Linked DNA regions of Homo sapiens: all the other regions are linked to region 2. The links are contacts of gene promoters, found by promoter capture Hi-C in human tissues and cell types (Jung and others, 2019). All regions are on one chromosome and are shown on one strand. Each heading gives the region's core, a stretch centred on a gene start or on the middle of the fragment in contact. The rest is flanking DNA. Distances are from core to core; before and after follow the strand shown.

Region 1 (3,026 bases), core at 381-2,880, 55 kb before region 2:
TTGTTGTTCCATATGAACTATAGAATTTTTTTTCTAATTTTGTAAAAAATGGCATTGGTAATTTGATAAGAATTGTGTTGAATCTACAGATTGCTTTGGGCAATAGGGTCATTTTAACGATGTTGGTTCTTCCAATGCATGAGCATGAAATGTTTTACCATTTGTTTGTGTCACTTATGATTTCTTTCATTAGTGTTCTGTAGTTCTCCTTGTAGAAATCTTTCACCTCCTTGGTTAAATGTATTCCTAGGTTGTGTGTGTGTGTGGTCTATTGTAAACGGGACTGAGTTCTTGAATTGGTTCCCAGCTTAAATGTTATTAGTGTATAAAAATGCTACTGATTTTTGTATGTTGATTTTGTATCTTGAAACTTTACAGAAGTTGTTTATCAAGTTGGGAGTCTTTTGGAGGAGTCTTTAGGGCTTTCTAGGTATGTGACTGTGTAATTGGTGAACAGAGATAATTTGACTTCCTGTTTTCTTTTTTCTTTCTTTCTCTTGCCTGATTGTTCTGGCTAGGACTTTCAGTATTATGTTGAATAGGAGTGGTGGAACAAGGAATGGACATCCATTCCAAGAAGTGGAACAAGGAATGGACATCCTCGTTCCAATTCTTAAGGGAAATGCTTTCAACCTTTCCCCATTCAGTATGATGTCTAGTGGCTGTGGATTCATCATATATATTCCCCGTTCAGTGGCTGTGGGTTTGTCATATATGGCTGTTATTATTTTGAGGTATTTTTAAATGCCTAGTTTGTTGACAGTTTTTATCATGAAGGGATATTGGCTTTTAACAAATGATTTTTTCTGCATGTATTGAGATAATCATATGTTTTGTGTTCTTAGTTCTGTTTATGTGGTGAATCACATTGATTGATTTGCATATGTTGAGCCATCATTGCATCCCTGGAATAGAGGGATGAATTATCTTTTTGATGTGCTGTTGGATTCAGTTTGCTAGTATTTTGTTGAGGATTTTGGCTTCTGCGTTGAGTGATATTGGCCTGTAGTTTTCTTTGTTGCGTGCTTGCCTGATTCCTCCCTAACTCATTCTATGACACCAAAATTCAACAGTGCATCAAAAAGACAATTCATCACAATTAAGTGGACTTTATTCCAGGGATGGAAGAATGGCTCAACACACACAAATCAATAAATGTGACTCACCACGTAAACAGAACTAAGAATGAAAACCATGTGATCATCTCAACAGATGCAGAAAAAGCATTCCATAAAATCTCTCCTTCTAGATTGTTTGGAATAGTTTCAGTAACTTTGGTCCTAGCTCTTCTTTGTACATCTGGTAATATTTCGCTGTGAATATGCCTGGTGCTGGGCTTTTTTGTTGTTGTTGGAAGATTTTTTTAATATGAGTTCAATTTTATTACTCCTTATTGGTCTGTTCAGTAGTTCTATTTCTTTCTGGTTTAATCTTGGGAGGTTGTATGTTTCTAGGAATTTATCCATTTCCTCTACATTTTCTAGTTTGTGTGCATAGAGGTATTCAAAGTACTCTCTGATGATCTTTTGGTTTTTATGTGGTATCAATGGTAATGTCAGCTTTATCATTTCTGATTATGCTTATTTGAATCTTCTTTTTTTCTTGGTTAGTCTAGCTAGTGGTCATTAATTTTGTTTATCATTTCAAAGAACCAACTTTTCATTTCACTGATCCTGTCTGTCATCCTGTTTGGTCTCAGTCTCACTTAATTCTGCTCTGATTCTTGTTATTTCTTCTCTTCTGCTAGATTTCGGTTTGGGCAAGCAGCTGGGAGAGCTGCAGAAAAGAGCTAGGTAGATCCTGCACCCAGTGTGCCTGGGCAGCCCCTTAGAAGTGTTCTCACACTCAGACTCTCTTGTTCTAGTTCCTTGAGGTGTGATGTTAGAATGCTAATTCGAGATCTTTCTTTCTTTTCAATGTAGGTGTTTAATTCTATAAAGTTTCATCATAGCTCTGTTTTTGCTGTACCACAGAGGTTTTGATGTGTTTTATCTCTACTTTCATTTGTTTCAAAGAATTGTTTTATTTCTTAATTTTATTGTTTACCCAAGAATCATTCTTGAACAAGTTGTTTAGTTTCCATGTACTTATGTAGTTTTGAGAGTTCCTCTGGATATTGATTTCTAATTTTATTCCACTGTGTTCTGAGGATACTTGATACGATTTTTTTAATGTTGAGACTTGCTTCATGGCCAAGCATGTGGTCGATTTTGGAGAATATTCCATGCATAGACGAGAATGTATATTCTGTGGTTATTGGGTAGAATGTTCTGCTAATATCTATTAGGTTCATTTAGTCTATAGTCCAATTCAAGTCCAGTGTTTCTTGATTTTCTGCCTCAATGATCTGTCCAGTGGTGTCAATGAGGTGTTGAAGTCCCCACTATTATTGCATTGCTATCAACCTGTTTTCTTAGGTCTACTAGTATTTCTTGCATGAATCTGGGTGATCTGGTGTTGGGTACATATATATTTAGAAGAGTTAAATCTTCTTGTTGTATTCAACCCTTTGTCTTACATAATACCCTTCTTTGACTTTTTTTTTTAACTGTTTTTGGTTTAAAGTTTGTTTTATCTGATATGAGAATGGCTATTCCCACTTGCTTTTGCTTTTCATTTGCATGACATATCTTTCTCTACCTTTTAACTTTGAGTGTGAAGGTGTCTTTAGCCAGTAGGTGGGTCTCTTGTAGGCAGCAAATGATTGGGTCTTATTTTTTTCATCCAATTTGCCACTCTTTATCTTTTAAGTGGAGCACTTAGGCCATTTACATTCAAGGTTAATATTGGTATGTGAGGTTTTGTTCCTATCATAGTGTTGTTAGGTAGTTGTGTTGGAGTTTAAATTGTGTAATTGCTCTATAGGATCTGTAAACTTTGCACTCATGTGTCCTTCTATGATGGCAAGTATTGTCCTTCTGTCTCCATGTTTAGAACTCCTTTGAGTATTTATTGTAGTCTAGTGGTGACAAATTACCTTAGCATTTGCTTGTCTGGAAAAGACCTCATTTCTCCTTCATTTATGA
Region 2 (3,030 bases), core at 530-3,029:
CACACCACACATACATTCACACACAGACACGTGCACACACTACACATGTGCAAATGCAGGTACAGAGAAACACACAGCATGTGCACAGATGCAAGACACACACACATACAGGAGCGCTCCCCTTCCTTCCATTATGCGCACCCAGCCTCCTGGACCTGCCTTCCTGGGTCCTGACTCTCTCCCAGATGTCATCTATAGGCCAGCCTCAGTGAAGGCCCCGACCCACGGGTGCCCTTTTACCTAAACCCCACTATTCCCAATAGCGTTCCCTTCCTACCATGGAGTGGGGGCTGTCACCACTGTGACATCCTCATCCAGTCCTTCCCCCGTCCTAATGACAACATCCCTGCAGGTGACCGACTCCAAGCATCAGCCTCTCCCTGCCCACCTGACCAGGCGCCACCCTCTCCACGGGCCAGGAAACATCCTCCCCAGTGCCATCAACCGCCCCACCTTGTGCCTTGCTTCTGAGAACAACGGAACCACCAGCCACCTGCGTCCCCACCTGCCTCCTGCCCCGGACTGTCCCCATCAGGAAGGTTTGCCAGGACTGCAGGGACCCTGAGCGCCCTGAGGGAGGCTGTGGCCCCGGCGAACACCAGGCTCAGCACTCAGCCTGTGACCTGGGCCAGTGGAAGTCCCCTTCTCAGGGCCTCAGTTTTCTGACCTATGGGAAGGACAGTCCCCAGACCGCAAGAGAAAGCAGCCGCCGAGGTTGGTGCAGAGCGGGTTCTCACTACACAGAAGGGCTCATTGCTCTGCGTCTTCTCTGCAGAGGTGCCCGTGCCCATTTCTCCACCACCGCCCTGCTTCCCCAACCCACAGTGCAGACGCGACCCCACAGGATGGCCGTCCTCTGGGCCGGGTGCTCACCCTCACTGCCCACCACAGGGGCCCAGGGCAGATGTGCTTTTGGGTCCTACCTCTCTCGCCTCCCCCCTACACCCAGGCTGCCCACCCTGCTCCCAGCTCTCAGCTCCCAACTCGCCGCTTACAACAAGAACACGCCACATTTGTGCCCACGATGTTGTCTGTAGGCCACCCAGGGCTCCAGGATCATCCTGCAGGGATGCAGGCTGTCCACCTGTTGCAGCTTCTCCACATCCTCCGGCAGCATCACACACACCATGCGTGGTCCTCCCAAGTTGTACCTGTGGGGCCAAGCAGGAGGCCCTGCTGGACGGGGTCATGTCCCTCGTGGCCCCACCCTGCAGTCCCAATCCAAAGTGTCTCCTGTCCACCCTCCCTGCTCCTGGATTAGCGGCTTCACAGCTAAAGCCCTCCTGCTGGCTCCCTGGAACCTTTCAACTTTAGTGCTTCTGAGTCCTGCCCTCTCTGCAGTGAGCTGGGGTTTTCTCTGCACTATCCCCTGCCCTGGCAGCACCACAGACCAGCATGTGCTGCACTCCTTCCCCATCCTCCAAAGGATGCAGAGTGCCGGGACCTGCTGGGAATGGCAGTGCTGAGTGCCTGGCAGGGTCCTGGGCAGCAGGGGCAGGGATCTGGGTGTTCCCAGCGAGGGCCAGGGAGGGCTTTACCTGAAAATGGGCCCCAGCTCCTGGAAGGTCTGGTGCATCTCCAGGTGCAGGTGCTCATAACCCTGCTCCCTCCAGATCTGCAGCAGCCTCAGCCACCTGTTGCCTGGATGCTGGGGCATGGCTTCAAACGGCAGCACCGTCCTAGGGGCCCGAGCGGCTCTAGTGCCCAGTGCCCGTGCCCTTTGCAGGGACAGCCAGGGCGCTGCCACGCACACCTCTGCCTTTGCCCTGAGTGCCATTCCAATGCTCCCTCCACCCTGTTCAGCCCAAATCCTTTTATCTCACCCAGGAACCTGCTCTGGAAACATATCACGTCATGGGAGAACTGGCTCTGGACCTGCCTGAGACTCTCAGAGCGAAGGTCAAGGCTGGAGGCCCCCAGCCAAAGGTAGATGAAGGAGAAGTCAGGTGCCTAATTCCCCATTGCTGCAAGTCCTGCTGGTCTGAGGATGCTGAGAAAAGGCGTGGGGTCTGGACTGGGGGTCCATGCTGGTGGAAGGTGGTGGGACCTGGCCTCTCCTTTCTCCAGGGCTGAGAGGAGTAAAATGGATGGGGACTTTATCTTATCGTGAGATGAGAGGGAGCCTTGGATTCTTTTAATAGACTTTATTTTTATACCACAGATTTAGTTCATTGCAAAATTGATCAAAAACTGCAGAAAATGTCCACGTACCCCCTGCCCTGACACAGGTACACCCTCCACCACAGGAGCGCACTGGTTCCATGTGAGGAATCTCGATACGTTGTTATCAACCAGGGTCCTGGAGTCACATGGGGTCTCCTCCTGGTGGTCAACATGCTGTGGGTTTTGACAAATGTATGTAATTTGTATCCCTCCTTGCAGGATCCTAGGAGTATTTTCACTGTCTTAAAAAGAGGAAAAGAAAACCTGTGCTCTGCCTGCTCATCCCTCCTGCCCCAGTCCCTGACATCTCCGATCTTTTTATCATCACCATGCTTTGGCCTTTTCCAAAATGTTGTATAGTTGGAATGACACCGTTTGTAGCCTTTTCAAAGTGACGTATCTCAGTTAGTAATATGCGTTTAAGGTTCCTCCATTTCTTTTCGTGGCTTGATAGCTAATTTCCTTTTTTTTTTTTTTTTCTAGAGGCTGGGTCTCACTTCTTTAGTGGTTGCCCTAGAGTTTGCAATATACGCTTAAAACTCATCTCTCCAACTCCACCTTCATATAACACTATACAGCTTCAGAGGTAATGCAAGCACTTTATAATCATCAGATATTCTTAGGCTGGGCATAGTGGCTCATGTCTGTCATCCCAGCACTTTGGGAGGCTGATGCAGGTGGATCACCTGAGGTCAGGAGTTCGAGACCAGCCTGGCCAACATGGCAAAACCCTGTCTCTACTAAAAATACAAAATTAGCCAGGTGTGGTGGCGCATGCCTGTAATCTCGGCTTCTCAGCAGGCTGAGTCAAGATGAATGCTTGAATCAAGGAGGCGGAGGTTGCAGTGAGTTGAGATCATCCCACTG
Region 3 (2,782 bases), core at 105-2,604, 47 kb after region 2:
GGAGTTAACTAAATTCACTAAACCAATAAAAAAACGGAAGTAATCTTTTAAACTTTGCTTAAAACATTGCTGATCCTTTGTTTTGTTTTTCAAAGTCAAGGAAACTTTTCTTTTGAGCTGTTTACAGCTTTTAACAGTTAAGTATGTATCCACCTATAAACAAAATGTGGAGCATATTTGTTTCTCTCTACCTAATTTCTCCAGAATTTGTAAACTAGTTGTGAGTATTCTTAACTTATGGCAATATAGTTATTTGCATAACTATATTTGCAATAAGAAACTGTTTTCTTTTGTAACAGGACACAATGGGAGAAATTGGTGATTTTTGTCAAGGCTTTGCCTGGAATAGTGTGTTTTCCTTTAGGGAATTAAACTTGACTTATAGAGCCAATAAAATCTCTTTAGGGAACTGACCTTATACCTTTCCAAAACAGTCCCTGTGCAGGGTTTCTAACCTGTGGTGAGTAAAGAATGTCACTTTCTGACAGGTCCAGGAGCCCCAGGTTATCTTGGGACATCAAGAGGAAAAAAAATTTACCTAACTCATAGATATACAAAGGTACAAACCCATGGCTGGGCTCAGCTTTAAAAAAGTCTTATCTGAGATTCCTTATGAAACAGAGTTCCATCAAAGCCAATTTAAAAACAGCTTATGTGAAAAATAATTATTCTTGCTGCACTTTATACAAATAATCAGGCCAAATATAATAAAGCAAATCAGTCTTACCATAATTTGTCTTTAGTAAAAATGGAAAACTGGAGAGAGAAATATTATGTTTCAAGAACTATGGTGCACTTGTTGTTAAATTCTAGTCTTATCTGTTGTTTTTAAGTTTGTTTCTGCAATTTAGGCTAACCCTGCTTATTCCTGTGAATCAACCAGTGATCTCTGACTGTTGCTCAGAAGAAACAAGAGGTATTGGGGAACCTGCCCCAATATTCACGTAGGTTCTTTTCTATTTTCCCTAAGCATCAGCCGGCTTGAGAAATAAAGGGACAGAGTACAAAAGAGAGAAATTTTAAAGCTGGGCGTCCGGGGGAGACATCACATATCGGTAGGTTCCGTGATGCCCCACAAGCCGCAAAAACCAGCAAGTTTTTATTAGGGATTTTCAAAAGGGGAGGGAGTGCGCGAATAGGTGTGGGTCACAGACATCAAGTACTTTACACAGTAATAGAATATCACAAGGCAAATGGAGGCAGGGCGAGATCACAGGACCACAGGACCGAGGCAAAATTAAAATTGCTAATGAAGTTTCAGGCACCACTGTCATTGATAACATCTTATCAGGAGACAGGGTTTTGAGAGCAACCGGTCTGACCAAAATTATTAGGTGGGAATTTCCTCTTCCAAATAAGCCTGGGAGTGCTATGGGAGACTGGAGTCTATTTCATCTCTGCAGTTTCAACCATAAGAGACAGGCACACCTGGGGGTGGGGGGGGGCGCCGTTCATAGGCCTATACCTCCAGGTGCATATTCTTTTTCTCAGGGATGTTCCTTGCTGAGAAAAAGAATTCAGTGATATTCCTCCCATTTGCTTTTGAAAGAAGAGAAATATGGCTCTATTCTGCCCAGCTCACTGGCAGTCAGAGTTTAGGGTTATCTCTCTTATTCCCTGAACAATTGTTGTTATCCTGTTCTTTTTTCAAGGTGCCCACATTTCATATTGCTCAAACACACACGCTGTACAATTTGTGCAGTTAATGCAATTATTACAGGGTCCTGAGGCGACATACATCCTCCTCAGCTGACAGGATTAAAAGATTAAAGCAAAGACAGGCATAGGAAATCACTAGGGTATTGATTGGGGAAGTGATAAGTGTCCATGAAATCTTTACAATTTATGTTTAGAGATTGCAGTAAAGGCAGGCATAAGAAATTATAAAAGTATTAGTTTTATAAAAACTAATAAATGTCCATGAAATCTTCACAATCCACGTTCTTCTGCCATGGCTTCAGCCAGTCCCTCCATTTTGGGTCCCTGACTTCCCACAACAAAGAGGGATGGGCAATGTAAAACTCTGAATTGGTATTCTAATTCTGGGCACATGACAATCAGCTAACAACCCCATACCAGCTTAGTTCCAACAGTTGCCCAGTTCATGAAAAGCCTTCTAATTATGTTTACTTGGAATAACTTTACTTATTTTGCTTTACTCTTGGGGAATATATTGCTGTTATACTCTTTGTATAGAAATACAGGACAAGCTTACTGAATGTTTTCTTAAATTAAACACATATTAATCTTCCAGATATCACCTTTCGTCAAAACTCAAGACTTATTAATGGACTTACCACACTGATGCTTTCTGACTGAGCTCCTCTCTACCCTGATTGCAAGAGACCCTCATAGTTAGAGAGGAATATCATCACCCCTATTCAGCCTGAAGAAGTTACAGAAGATGGATCTCCATCCCTCTGCAACCTTTAGGAATAAGTGTTCTCTTATAAAAGGAAGGGGGGAAATATCAGAGGCATGTGAACCAGAGCAACTCCATCTTAAACAGGAACTGGGTCAAATGAGGCTAAAACCTACTGGGCTGCATTCCCAGATGTTTAAGGCATACTAAGTCACAGGATGAGATAGGAGGTCAGCACAAAATACAGGTCACAAAGACTTTGCTGATAAAACAGTTTGCAGTAAAGGAGCCAGCCAAAACCCACCAAAACCAAAATGACCATGAGAGTGACCTCTGGTCATCCTCACTGCTACACTCCCATCAGCGCCATAACAGTTTATAAATGCCATGGCAATGTCAGGAAGTTACCCCATACCGTTT

What was found. The method cuts DNA at HindIII sites, captures the fragments that hold promoters and counts their contacts. A contact is called where the count stands out against the background at its distance.
Region 1: a fragment that was not itself captured here is called in contact with the fragment with the promoter of CYP11B2 in region 2 in 1 of the 25 tissues and cell types used here (IMR-90 fibroblasts).
Region 3: a contact is called between a fragment that was not itself captured here and the fragment with the promoter of CYP11B2 in region 2, in 5 of the 25 tissues and cell types used here (dorsolateral prefrontal cortex, lymphoblastoid cells, mesendoderm cells and 2 more).

Annotation. Positions count from the first base shown.
Region 1 is chr8:142,860,970-142,863,995 of GRCh38, forward strand. No RefSeq gene overlaps it. Among named protein-coding and RNA genes, the nearest start is that of CYP11B1, 17 kb to the right of the region's middle. The HindIII fragment of the contact is 3,293 bases long and covers 1-3,026 here.
Region 2 is chr8:142,916,064-142,919,093 of GRCh38, forward strand. It overlaps CYP11B2 (cytochrome P450 family 11 subfamily B member 2), which reads right to left and starts at 1,780. Exons shown (of 9, transcript NM_000498.3): 1 at 1,539-1,780; 2 at 996-1,151. The coding sequence starts at 1,777. RefSeq lists a promoter at 1,779-3,030 and an enhancer at 2,786-3,030. The HindIII fragment of the contact is 14,293 bases long and covers 1-3,030 here.
Region 3 is chr8:142,963,166-142,965,947 of GRCh38, forward strand. No RefSeq gene overlaps it. Among named protein-coding and RNA genes, the nearest start is that of CYP11B2, 47 kb to the left of the region's middle. The HindIII fragment of the contact is 3,160 bases long and covers 1-2,782 here.